2 separate regions of the Homo sapiens genome follow, and region 1 is linked to region 2. Evidence: promoter capture Hi-C in 16 types of primary human blood cells and fetal thymus (Javierre and others, 2016). All regions are on one chromosome and are shown on one strand. The core of a region is centred on a gene start or on the middle of the fragment in contact, and the rest is flanking DNA. Distances in the headings are between cores, read along the strand shown. Region 1 holds the start of RBX1 (ring-box 1). Region 2 holds the start of CHADL (chondroadherin like).

Region 1 (6,124 bases), core at 1,086-3,585, 290 kb before region 2:
GCCACCACGCCCGGCTAATTTTTTTGTATTTTTAGTAGAGACAGGGTTTCACCATGTTGGCCAGGCTGGTCTCTAACTCCTGACCTTAGGTGATTCTCCCACCTCGGCCTCCCAAAGTGCTGGGATTACAGGCTAGAGCCACCTCGACTGGCCCTGAGACTTCTTGATGTATTTATTTGTTGACTTGCATATTATTCCCTAACTAGGGGTTTATTTGACTCTGTTATTATGTCTCTTCTGTTTAAAACAGAACCTGGTAAATATCAATACTTTTATTGAATGATTGATAAATATGTCTTCAAGACCTTAATTTACAATGGGTTTCTAGTATTCCTGTCAGGGCCTGTAGGCACACAACAAATTAACAACAGAAATTTTAACAAAGTCATTAAAACTTGGGCTAAGAAAAACTTTGTAGGGTTCTTGTAGCCCTTTAAGGTCTCACACAATTTTTCTTTCCAAGTCTGGATAAAGCTGTGGTGGTCTTTTCCCGGATCTGTTGTTGCTGTTTATAACTAACAAACAAATCTCAGTTCTTTCTCTTTTATTATTTTTTTTGGGGGGGAACGGAGTCTCGCTCTGTCACCCAGGCTGGAGTAGAGTGGCTCGATCTCGGCTCACTGCCACCTCCACCTCCCGGGTTCAAGAGATTCTCCTGCCTCAGCCTCCTGAGTAGCTGGGACTACAGGCGCGTGCCACCACACCCAGCTAATTTTTGTATTTTTAGTAGGGACGGGGTTTCGTCATGTTGGCCAGGCTGGTCTCAAACTCCTGACCTCAGGTAATCCACCTGCCTCGGCCTCCCAAAGTGGCTCCCAGGCGTGAGCCACCGCGCCCAGCCTATTCTTTCTCTTTAGCAATAGAGTCAGCACGCTCCATTACCCGCCAGTTATCTTTTAAGAGAAAATACAAGGCTTCAAATGCACCTGTACGACATCTAAGAGTGCTCTGGCAGAGTCACACCTCTGCAAGGTTAGAGATGTCAAAGGGAGTCCTGGTCTAGCCAGAAATGGGAGAGTGACAAAGTACAGGTGCTTGGGTCGGGTGGGATGGCTCACTCCTGTGATCCCAGCACTTTGGGAGGCCGAAGTGGGAGGATCACTTGGGCCCAGGAGTTCGAGACCAGCCTAGGCAACATAGTGAGACCTTGTCTCTATTTTTTAAAAAAATTAAAAAAGAAAAAAAAAAAAAGCGGCTCTAGCACTTTGGGAGGCCGAGGCAGGCGGATCACCTGAGGTCAGGAGTTCGGGACCAGCCTGGCTAACGTGGTGAAACCCCGTTTCTACTAAAAATACAAAAAATTAGCCGGGCGTGGTGGCGGGCGCCTGTAATCTCAGCTACTCGGGAGGCTGAGGCAGGAGAATCGCTTGAATCCTGGAGGCGGAGGTTGCAGTGGGCCGAAATCGCGCCATTACACTCCAGCCTGGGCAACAAGAGTTAAAAAAGAATGCCTCACAAAAATTCAAGAAATACAGCGACTGCAGATGGGTCGGTTTCACTACAGCACAAGCAGCGGAAAAAGGACACAGATCGGGGAGAAATCACCCTACAAAGATGACAACTGAGGAATGCGGAGTGGGGACTGACACACGTTACGGTGAAACCGTGCACCACGACCAAAGGCGGTCCTAGGACTGCGACTATGTGGGCGCAGAGGCCACCCCCCAGGCTTGGCGGGCGAGTAAAGGCAGGGCTGGGGGCCTGCTCAGTGTGGCCTTAGGGAGGAACTTCGGGGGTCTCCTCTCTCCCCATCGAATCCCTGAGCAGTTCCCGAACAGAAATCGGAGACCAGACGGTGCCTGGGCCCCAGCCCTCCCACGGGGACTGCACCTTGGGCCTGGCTCGGAAGCGGGTCAGAGTCTGCGAAAGACCAGCGAGGACTCTTGGGTTTCGGGGCAGGCCGCGGGCGCCCACCCACGCCAGCACCGGGAGCCGCGCGGCGACTCGGCGAGCCCGGCAGGCAGGACAGGACTGCGGCGCAGGTCTGGCTCAGGCGGAGGAAGCAGCCGCCGCCCCAGCTGACGGAGTGCGGCCGGGGGCTTCCCAGAGGAGGCGGCGACGTCGAGCCCTTTCGAACGTTTCCACCCGGCTAGCTCACGTAGCCTCGGCCCCGCCCGGCCCCGCCCGGCCCCGCCCCACCCACTCCGGCCACCGCCCCCTCCCCGGCCTACAGTTCGCGGGTGGGGCGACCTGCGACAGCCCCTTTAAGAGGCGTGGTCACGTGCTCCGCCCCCACCTCCGCCTCGCGCGCCAGTAAGGGGTGGGGTGCGGGAGGAGGTGCCGGGGAGGTGGGGGGAGCGAAGTGTGCGCTGCTGCGCAGGCGCGGTGGTCGGACGACAGACCGTGTGTTTCCAAAATGGCGGCAGCGATGGATGTGGATACCCCGAGCGGCACCAACAGCGGCGCGGGCAAGAAGCGCTTTGAAGTGAAAAAGGTTGGGTCTCGCCAGCGCCTTCCTCAGGGAAGCTAGAGAGGCGCGGATCTGGCTGGCAGGCCCGAGGATGGTCGAGGCGCGGAGTAAAGGGTTTCATTTCAGGGCGTTCCTGGGACCGGGTACCACGAAAGGAAGCCGGGGGGCGGGTCTTAGAGTTGATCGGCGTGACGGCGGCCCACTGTTGGGGGAAGTGTTGGTTTCGCTGTGAGGCTAAGGGGCCAATCACAGAGCTGCTTATTGAGATACGCGGGGTTGCGACTTGGCGGCGGGAGCCAAGCGCTTGAGCTGTCACTGGAGTGGTTGAGAGGTGGGGGAAGGACAGGGTAGGGTGGGGTGGGGTGGGTGGAATGGGGAGTCGAAGCGAATGCGGCGGTGGAGGATGGGGCAGTGCGGCGAGAGCCTGGAACCTGAGGTCCTACCGCATTAGAGGCCTCTGAGGACCCCCCTTGGTGATCTTGCTCCGCCCCTTTTTGAAGCTTGGGGTCCTCTCACTTGGAGGGGTCCTCTCACTTGGAGGGATCCTCGCTGAACCGAGGCCTCACACTGCCTGGTTAGAGTCTGGAGTGTAATGCTTGGCTCTTCTGAGACGTCTGTTGGCTTTTCACACAACCACCCCACTCTTGGGTTCTCTGTCACGTCCAGAATCTCCCCCTTCCAAAATAATAATAAAAAGCATGGTGGAACTTGTTAAGAAAATCCGAGCCCAAATCCTGTGGCAGTTAGGGAGGGTTGAGTACTAGTCGCGAACGACTTGGTAAGCGTGGGAAAGCAAAAATGGAACGTGTCTTTTTGCATGAAATGCCTTTTAGTGGTTTGCCACAGTTTGGGAGAACAGTATCGATTCTCACCTAACATGAAAGCTGTTCAAAATGGAGATTCTAAAATAGGGAAGATATTCCTAGAACATCTGGCTAAACACTGACAATATCCCCCGTCCTAGTGCTTTTTGGTGTCTCATTGTGGCCACTGCTGCTCAGTTACAGCCAGCAGCCATATTGAAAAATAATAGAAGTAGGGGCTTTTCCTCCACCTTGAAGCTGTGATGTGAAAAGTGGTAAAGAAGTTACTAGGCACTGAGAATGGGGTTTGAAAGCGAAGAAGGTTTGGGAGTATTTGTAATTGAGGAAGCCAGAGTTGAATGAATGAAATTCTGTTAAACTCTTACTGGAATTATTATCTTAATAGAAGAGTCTAAACATATAAAAGTTGAGAACATCAGTTTATTTTATGGTAAGAATCAAAATTCTAGTGAATTGTAGAATTTGTTATGAAGTAATCTAAGATTTAAGTGATGACCTTGTTCTGTGTACTGACACGGGTATTTAATTATCCAGCTTATCCCATGATTACCCATTTTATGATCCAGTCATTATCTTAGTTCATTCTGTTCTCTAGCTTTCACTTCATTGCTCATGCTTCCAGAGCTGTGTAGAGCAGATACTTATTCAGATTTTGAGCTCTTCTGCAACTGCCACCAAAACCTGCACAGAAATTCAAGTTTGTGCCCTTTTTTTTTTTTTTTTTTTTTTTTTGAGATGGAGTCTCACTCTGTCGCCCAGGCTGGAGTGCAGTGGCACGATCTTGGCTCACTGCAACCTCCGTCCCCCAGATTCAAGCGATTCTCCTGCCTCAGCTTCCCAAACAGCTGGTATTATAGACACCCGCCACCAGGCCTGGCTAATTTTTGTATTTTTAGTAAAGATAGGATTTTGCCATGTTGGCCAGGCTGGTCTTGAACTCCTGACCTCAGTGATCGGCCCGCCTCGGCCTCCCAAAATGCTAGGACTATAGGCGTGAGCCACTGCACCCGGCCAGACTAAATTATTTTAAACTATAGGAAACAAATTAAAAGATGACATTAATTTCTGTGTTCATATACTCAGCCTTTTGGAGAATAGAACATACGTGTAGTCTACTGTTGTCTTTGGTATAATAAGATTAACGTAATATCCAAAAACTTTTGTTTGGTGGTTCCCTGTGGCCAAAGAGATGATAACTGCAGCTGCAGCCTGAGGTCCTAAAGAGTATGTGTGTGTGTTACAAGCAGAATGCACTGTTCCCTCTTTTTGTCTTTGCAGTGGAATGCAGTAGCCCTCTGGGCCTGGGATATTGTGGTTGATAACTGTGCCATCTGCAGGAACCACATTATGGATCTTTGTAAGTAATTGGAGGAGGATGGGAGGAAGTTGAGAAGGTTGCAGAGATTGTGGCTATCTTGATGTGACTGATTTTCTTCTTCACACGAGGAGATAGCAAGCCTACTCTGAGCACTCGGTCTTCTGTATCTAGTCTGTTGGTGTGTTTGAAATAGAGTAGTTTTTTTATGATGTCCTGGAGGCATACCCAGCTCTCAGAATAAATCTACTCAATCTAAAGATGGCAGGGACACATTTAGAATTAATTGTGGACGACAGGCACTGTTGATTTTTCCTGCATATCTTCCATCTTGTACCTAGACTCAAAGGTAGAAATAGTGAAAGGAGGAAAATAAACTTTGAGCTAAAATATTCTGAGGCCAAGCGCAGTGGCTCATGCTTGTAATCCCAGCACTTTGGGAGGCCAAGGCGGGCAGATCATTTGAGGCCAGGAGTTGACCAACCTGGCCAACATGGTGAAACCCTGTCTCTACTAAAAATACAAAAATTAGCTGGGCGTACTGGTGCATGTCTGTAATCCCAGCTACTTGGCAGGCTGAGGCAGGAGAATTGCTTGAACCTGGGAGGCAGAGGTGGCAGTGAGCCGAGATCACACCACTGCACTACAACCTGGGCGACACAGCAAGACTCAAAGTCTCAAAAAAAAAAAAAAGTCTATCTGATCTAATTTTTGCTGGTCATTGTTTACAAAGGAAAGAAGCGTTAAGGAGTGAGGATTTTGTATGTTAGGCCCAAACATAATAAAAAGGAAATCATTGCCAACATCTAAATAAATAATTAATTGCACTAAAGAAATTTCATTTAAATCTCCACATATTTTATTACATGTAGTGGTCAGCACATAGTGATCTGATTATAGTCTTTGATGAACTGATTTCCTGTCCTTACAGTAGAAGGGACAAGAATGTTGATCACACCAGGAACAGTTGAGGTTACTTTTTCATCCGGGAACTAAAATGATTTGTTACTGAGGCCAGAAATGGAGGAAAGAAACTTTAAGTTTCTAGAAATGGAATTATAGGAACTTATTTTTCAGATCACTCACCTGCCTTTACAACTTTGTCTTGAGTCACTCCTGCTCACTCTGTTAGTTTACCTGGATGCTTTTTTTTTTTTTTAACTGACCACGGTGGCCAAAGCAGCCATGGCCCCGGCCAGTTTTCCATTTTTTTTCCTTATTCTGAGATGGAGTCGCCCAGGTTGGAGTGCAGTGGCGTGATCTCAGCTCACTGCAACCTCCGCCTCCCGAGTTCAAGTGATTCTCCTGCCTCAGCCTCCTCAATAGCTGGGATTACAGGCACCTGCCACCACACCCAGCTAATTTTTGTATTTTTAGTAGAGACACAGTTTTACCGTGTTGGCCAGGCTGGCCTCGAACTCCTGACCTCGGGTGATCCGCGTGCCTCTGCCTCCCAAAGTGTTGGGATTACAAGCATAAGCCACCATGCCCGGCCTGCTTTTCCATTCTTAAGTGTCCATGCTCTATTTTAGAGCCCTTAAATAGCCTAGTCTTTTTTGCCTAGAATATTCTTCA
Region 2 (6,153 bases), core at 2,579-5,078:
GTTGAGTGAATGCACGCTGCCTGTGGCCTTGTGCCGCCTCCTGCACCAACCCCGCCAGATGCCCAGTGCCCACCTGCTCCAGGCCACTGCTGTTCAGGAAGAGGTGCTGCAGCGACCTGCCCACAGGCTGGAAGGCTCCGTCACGCAAGGCCCTGAGTGGGTTGCCCGAGAGCTGCAGCTCCAGGAGGGCAGGCAGCCCCTCCAAGGCCCCAGTGGGCACCTCTCGCAGCTGATTCCTGTCCAGGTGCAGCTTCTCCAGCTCCCGAGCTGGGCCCAGCGCCCCAAGGGACACTTCGGTGATGCGGTTTCCACTCAGGTAGACCCAGCGCAAGGCCCGTGTTCTCCCCAGGTCCCCAGGTGCCAGGCGGTCCACAGCGTTGTCCTGCAGGTGCAGGGAGAAGAGGCTGGGCAGGGCGCGCAGGGCAGCCCCTGGCACCTGCAGGAAACGGTTGCGTTCTAGGTACAGGTAGCCGAGGCGGGGAGCCCCTTCAAGGGCAGCAGCGCTGAGGCCTGCGAGCTGGTTGTCGGAGAGGTACAGGTAGATCAGGCGGCCCAGCCCGGCCAGGGCGCCCGCTTCCAGCTCCGCGATGCCGCAGTGCTGCAGGTGCAGCGACACCAGGTGGCCCAGGCCGGGGAAGGCCGCTCGGGGCACCGAGGGGAAGTGGTTCCGCCTCAGGTCCAGGAGCTGGGTGTCGCTGGGGAAGCCGCGGGGCACCGCCTGCAGGCCGCAGCCCTCGCAGCTGCTGTGCCGGGACTCGGGGACGCACACGCAGGCGCGAGGGCAAGGCGCGACTGCCCGCTCCTCCCCGGGGCCGCGCGGAGGGCCGCGCGGAGGGGCGCGGGGCCCGGCCACAGCCCGCTCTTCCAGCTCTTCCTCTTCCTGCGCCGCGTCCCCAGGGCAGCGCAGGTCCCAGGGCCGCAGGGCGTCCAGAGCCTCGCCCCGCAGGCGCCGCGGCCCCTGGCACGCGCCGTCCGAGCGCACGCGCGCCCGCGCCAGCCACTCGAGTAGGGGCCGCGCCTGGCAGCCGCACCACAGCGGATTCCCCTGCAGCCGCAGCCGGCGCAGCTGGCCCGGGCCCTGCAGCGGGGGCAGGGTGTCTAGCTGGTTCCCGCGGAGGTCGAGGGTGTGCAGGCGCGGACAGTGTGCGAAGGCCCTGGGACCCAGGGCCTGCAGGGCCCCGCCGTCCAGCAGCAGCTCCCGCAGGCCGGGCAGCGCCAGCCCGTCCTCCTCGCCCGCGTAGGTGAGCGGGTTGTGGCCCAGCTCCAGACGGGCCAGGCCGCGGGCCTGGGACAAGACAGGCCCGGGCAGAGCCTGGAGCTCGTTGTGGTGTAGGCTGAGCCGTCTCAGGGCGGGCAGGCCAGCCAGGGCCTCGGGGGCCAGCACGCTGAGCGCGTTGTGCGACAGCCGCAGCCAGCGGACGCGCAGTAGCCCCTGGAAGGCCATGGCGGGCAGGTAAACCAGGGCGTTGTGGGCCAGGTTTAGCGTGGCCAGCGCACCCAGTGCCCCGAACGTCCCCGGCCGCAGCTCCTCCAGTGCGTTCCCCTCCAGCTCCAGCCGCCGCAACGAGCCCAGCCCGTCCAGCGCCTCCTGGGGCAGCTCACGCAGGTGGTTGGAGGCCAGGTTGAGCAGGAGCAGGCGGCCCAGGCCACGGAAGGCGCCCTCGGCCACCAGCTCCACCTCGCAGTGGCGCAGGTCCAGGTGTGTGAGGTGAGGCACGCCCTGGAAGGCGGCTGCGGGGATCACCTTCAGCAAATTGCCCTGCAGGTCCAGCCGCTGGGTCAGCTGGGGACAGCGAGGAGAAAGTGGGGCTGAGCCAGGCAGGGACCCCGCCTTTGCAAGTGCTGCTTCTTCCCCGGAACACTCTTTTCTCCTGTCACCTTTCCCATATTTCTCTTCATCCGACCCCTGACACCTCCTCCAGGAAGCCTTCCTCTCCAGTGCCCTGGGCATCACCCACTGTGGCATTTTTCACACTGTGCTGTCCCTGCCTCCTCGCTCTCTCTCCTCCACTAGCTGATGACTCTGCAGAGCAGAGACCACACCTCACCCTGCCACAGCCCGCCTCTCCACCACAGGGTCTGCAGTGAATTCAGTATCGATCTATGGGTCACCTACTTATTCCATTCACACAGTAAGGATTTTAAATAGATCATCTCCCTGTTACTGGTTTTTATTATTCCCATTTTACAGAAGTGTAAACTGAGGCTCAAAGAGAAGTAATTTGCCAAGGTCTCCCGGGCAGGCGGTGGCAGATCAACTGGTGCCCAGCCCAGGCTCCTCCCTCTGGGTCCCCACCTTGCCCCACTGCCACTCTGTGCCTGTGCTCCTGCCCTGCTGACCTCAGGGATGGCGTCTGGCACCTCAGTGAGGTTCTGGTACCGGCAGGCAACGTGTCGCCTGGAGTTGTCACAGATGCAGGCCTGTGGGCAGCGCTGGGCGGCGGCCTGCCTAGCCGGGGCCAGCAGCAGAAGTACAAGAAGCGGCAGCACCAAGGGGACATGGGTGGAGCTCCGGGGCCTGGGACGGGGAGGGAGAGTCTGTTGTGCACAAGGGCCGAGGCCACATGCTGTCCCTCACTTAGTCCCAGCCATGGTGCAGCTCCTGCCCCAAAAACCCCTCAGAGCCTCCTCCTTTGGGCCCAGGAAAGTGCCAATCACCCTGAGCCTCCCTGCCCCCCACCCCCCACGCAGTGGAGGTCCTATGATTAGTCCTGTTTTACATGGGAGGAAACCGAGGCTCAGAAAAGTGACCTGGTTAGTCCCTTTGCCTCTGCCCAATGGCTCAGTGAGGACTTGCTGACTGTGAGAATGACTCCAGTTCAGAGCATGTTCTCAGGCTGTGGTGAGGCTCTGGTCCAGGGTAGGCTCGGAAGCAGCCTGTCCTCAGACTGATATGATGCCAGCTCCCAGGTGGCAGGAGCATAATGGTACCCCCCAGAAAGGAGGGAGGCATCCAGTCCGGGTCCTTGAGTCTTTTTTTGTTTGTTTGTTTAAATAGAGACAAGCCTTGCTCTGTTGCCCAGGCTGGAGTCTGGAGTGCAGTGGAATGACTATGGCTTACTGCAGCCTTCACCTCCTGGGCTAAAGTGATCCTCTCACCTCAGCCTCTTGAGTAGCTGGGACTACAGGCACACACCACCACGCCTGGCTAATTTTTTAATTACTTCTGGTAGAGACAGGGTCTCGCTATGTTGCCCGGGCTGGTCTTGAACTCCTGGCCTCAAGTGATTGTCCCACCTTGGCCTCCCAAAGCGCTAGGATGATAGATCACCTCCCCTGCCCAGCTGGCCCCTCTGTTCTCAGCCTGTGTCAGGCATGGCCTCTCCCCCATCGCTGGGCTGTTCCCCGGCCCCCAGGAGCCTCCCCCTCGCTGCTCACTGGACTATCGTCTGTTTTGGAGTCTCCTTTGGGTCCCAGGCTCCAGCCCCTGCGTTGGAGTTGGTGGCTTCTCCAGAGCCTGTGGTGAAGGCTGTGCCTCAGGGCAGGCCAGGGAGGGGACCCATGGGGACAGATCGCTGAAGCGACAAGCATTCATAATGCAGGGACCACTGCTGGGCTCTCAGACAAGCCCCAGAGGACCAGTTCCTGGCAGTGGCCACATTGCCACGTGTCTCAGAGCCCACCTTGGGAGACCCCCTTCCTGGAGAACCCCAGGAAGTCCCCAGAGCCCCTGCCCGCCAGCCTCTGAGAGGCCCAGAGGGGGCAGAGACTTACCTGAGGCCACTGAGCTGCTCTGAATCCCCCCTTGCACCATCGGGCCCAAAGACTCACCCCTCCATGCCGCCTGGAACTGCTGGTCCAGCCTGGAGGCGCAGCGCAGGGACAGGCTGTCCCCGCCTGGCAGGAGCCCCCCTCCACGGCCCGCAGGCCTGGCAGCTGGGACAGGGCTGAATGGGAGGCATTGTCGGCAGACCAGGCAAGCCAGGCTTCCCCAGGCTGAGGTGAAGAAGGGGCGGGCGGCGGGCGGGAGCAGCGGCTGGAGTTACAGGGCCTCCTGCCTGCCCCAGCCGAGGACTGAGGCCCCGGCCTGAATCCTTGGGCCAGCCCGACAGGGAGGGGGCACCAGCAGCTGGCCCGGGAGTCAGCAGTCCTGGGCTCCCTCCTGCCATGTGGGCTGCCCTCCCAGAGGCTGCTTCCTAGTCTCTGAAAAACACATCCCATTAATAAGTAGCTCTGAGGTCACAGTGGGGGTTCAGGCCCGCACCTGGCACACAGTGGGTGCTTCAGAACAGGTGACCCTTTCCTTCCGTTTGTGCTTACACATTGACATAAATAGTTTAATACTGGACACACAGGATTCTAGACACTCATTTTTTTCACTTAACCTCAGATTACTGGGAGTTATCCAAATTGACTCTTCCGAATCTCATTATTCTGTGGTATATAGTATTCCATTGTGTAAATGTATCACATTGACTTAGCCATTCATCTTGGACATTGGCTACCTCCAATTTTTTGCTATTTACAAACAATATTGCAAAGAATATCCAAATACGCATCTTCCCAAGCTCGTGTTTGTTTTTTAAATAATACATCCAGACCATGGCCAATGTTCATGTATCTTGATTTTTCAGATTCCTGCTTCTGATGGAATTGCATCTTCTACTGTTTGTTCCTTTAATTGGAAACAGGGGTCAGGCACAGTGGCTCATGCCTGTAATCCCAGCACTTTGGGAGGCTGAGGTGGGAGGATCACTTGAGCCCAGGAGTTTGAGACCAGCCTGGGCAACACAGACTCTGTCTCAAGAGAAAAAAAAAAGGCCGGGCGCGGTGGCTCACGCCTGTAATCCCAGCACTTTGGGAGGCGGAGGCGGGTGGATCACGAGGTCGAGATCAAGACCATCCTGGCTAACACAGTGAAACCCTATCTCTACTAAAAGTACAAAAAATTAGCCGGGTGTGGTGGCAGGCGCCTGTAGTCCCAGCTACTTGGGAGGCTGAGGCAGGCAAATGGCATGAACGCGAGAGCCGAGATGGCGCCACTGCACTCTAGCCTGGGCAACAGAGTGAAACTGTCTCAAAAAAGAAAAAAAATATATACATATATATATATATATATATATATATATATATATATATATATATATATATGTATGTGTGTGTGTATACACTTATGTGTGTATATATTTATATATAATAAAAATATAAATGTATATGTTTATATATATTTATATATGTTAAACAATGAACATCTGTGTGTACTTTTCCTAGACTGCAGGAGTTTTTTGTTTTTTGAGACAGAGTCTCACTTTATCGCCCAGGCTGGAGCTCACTGCAACCTCCACCTCCCTGGTTCATGCGATTCTCCTGCCTCAGCTTCCCAAGTAGCTGGGATGACAGATGTGTACCACCACATCTGGTTAATTTTTGCATTTTTAGTAGAGACGGGGTTTCGCCATGTTGGCCAGGCCGGTCCCGAACTCCTGACCTCAAGTGATCTGCCCGCCTTGATCTCCCAAAGTGCTGGGATTACAGGCATGAGTCACCACGCCCAGCCCTGCAGTAACATTTTAAAAAAAGAAATAGTGCCATGCCACACAGCCATCTGCTTTGTGCTTTTTTTGCTTGGCAAATTCCAATCAATGGAACTTCAGTGTGCTCTTTCGTCCTTTTTTTGAGACAGGGTCTCACTGTTGCCCAGGTGTGAGTGAAGTGTGATCATGGCTCACTGCGGCCTTGACATACCAGCCTCCCAAGCAGCTGGGACCTCCAGATATGCACCGCCACCTCCAGCTGGTTTTAAAATTTGTTGTAGAGTTGGGGTCTTGCTATGTTGTCCAGGCTGGTCTTGAACTCCGGGGCACAAGTGATCCTCCCACCTCGGCCTCCCAAAGCGTTAGGATTACAGGCATGAGCCACTGCACCTGGCTGTGTCTGGCGTTTTCCACTCAATATTATGTTAGTGAGAATCATCTTTTTATTTTTTTTTTGAGACGGAGTCTAGCTCTCGTTGCCCAGGCTAGAGTACAGTGGCGTGATCTCAGCTCACTGCAACCTCCGCCTCCCAGGTTCAAGGAATTCTGCTTCAGCTTCCCGAGTAGCTGGGATTACAGGCACCCGCCACCACACCCAGCTAATTTTTGTATTTTTAGTAGAGACGGGTCTCACCATATTGGCCAGGCAGGTCACAAACTCCTGACCTCAAGTGATCCG

The links. Contacts are between HindIII fragments. The CHiCAGO score rates a contact against its expected background, and 5 or more counts as called.
Region 1: a contact is called between the fragment with the promoter of RBX1 here and the fragment with the promoter of CHADL in region 2, in 3 of 17 cell types (neutrophils, erythroblasts and M0 macrophages). The highest score is 6.9, in neutrophils.

Annotation. Positions count from the first base shown.
Region 1 is chr22:40,949,043-40,955,166 of GRCh38, forward strand. RBX1 (ring-box 1) reads left to right here and starts at 2,336. Exons shown (of 5, transcript NM_014248.4): 1 at 2,336-2,434; 2 at 4,513-4,591. The coding sequence starts at 2,357. RefSeq lists enhancers at 1,298-1,888, 2,403-2,612, 3,068-3,656 and a silencer at 1,773-2,352. The HindIII fragment of the contact is 5,907 bases long and covers 1-2,908 here.
Region 2 is chr22:41,237,103-41,243,255 of GRCh38, forward strand. CHADL (chondroadherin like) reads right to left here and starts at 3,829. Exons shown (of 6, transcript NM_138481.2): 1 at 3,772-3,829; 2 at 2,341-2,518; 3 at 74-1,783. The coding sequence starts at 3,779. RefSeq lists enhancers at 1-216, 217-805, 806-1,394, 3,432-3,932, 3,933-4,433 and 1 more and silencers at 580-679, 740-1,119. The HindIII fragment of the contact is 52,914 bases long and covers 1-6,153 here.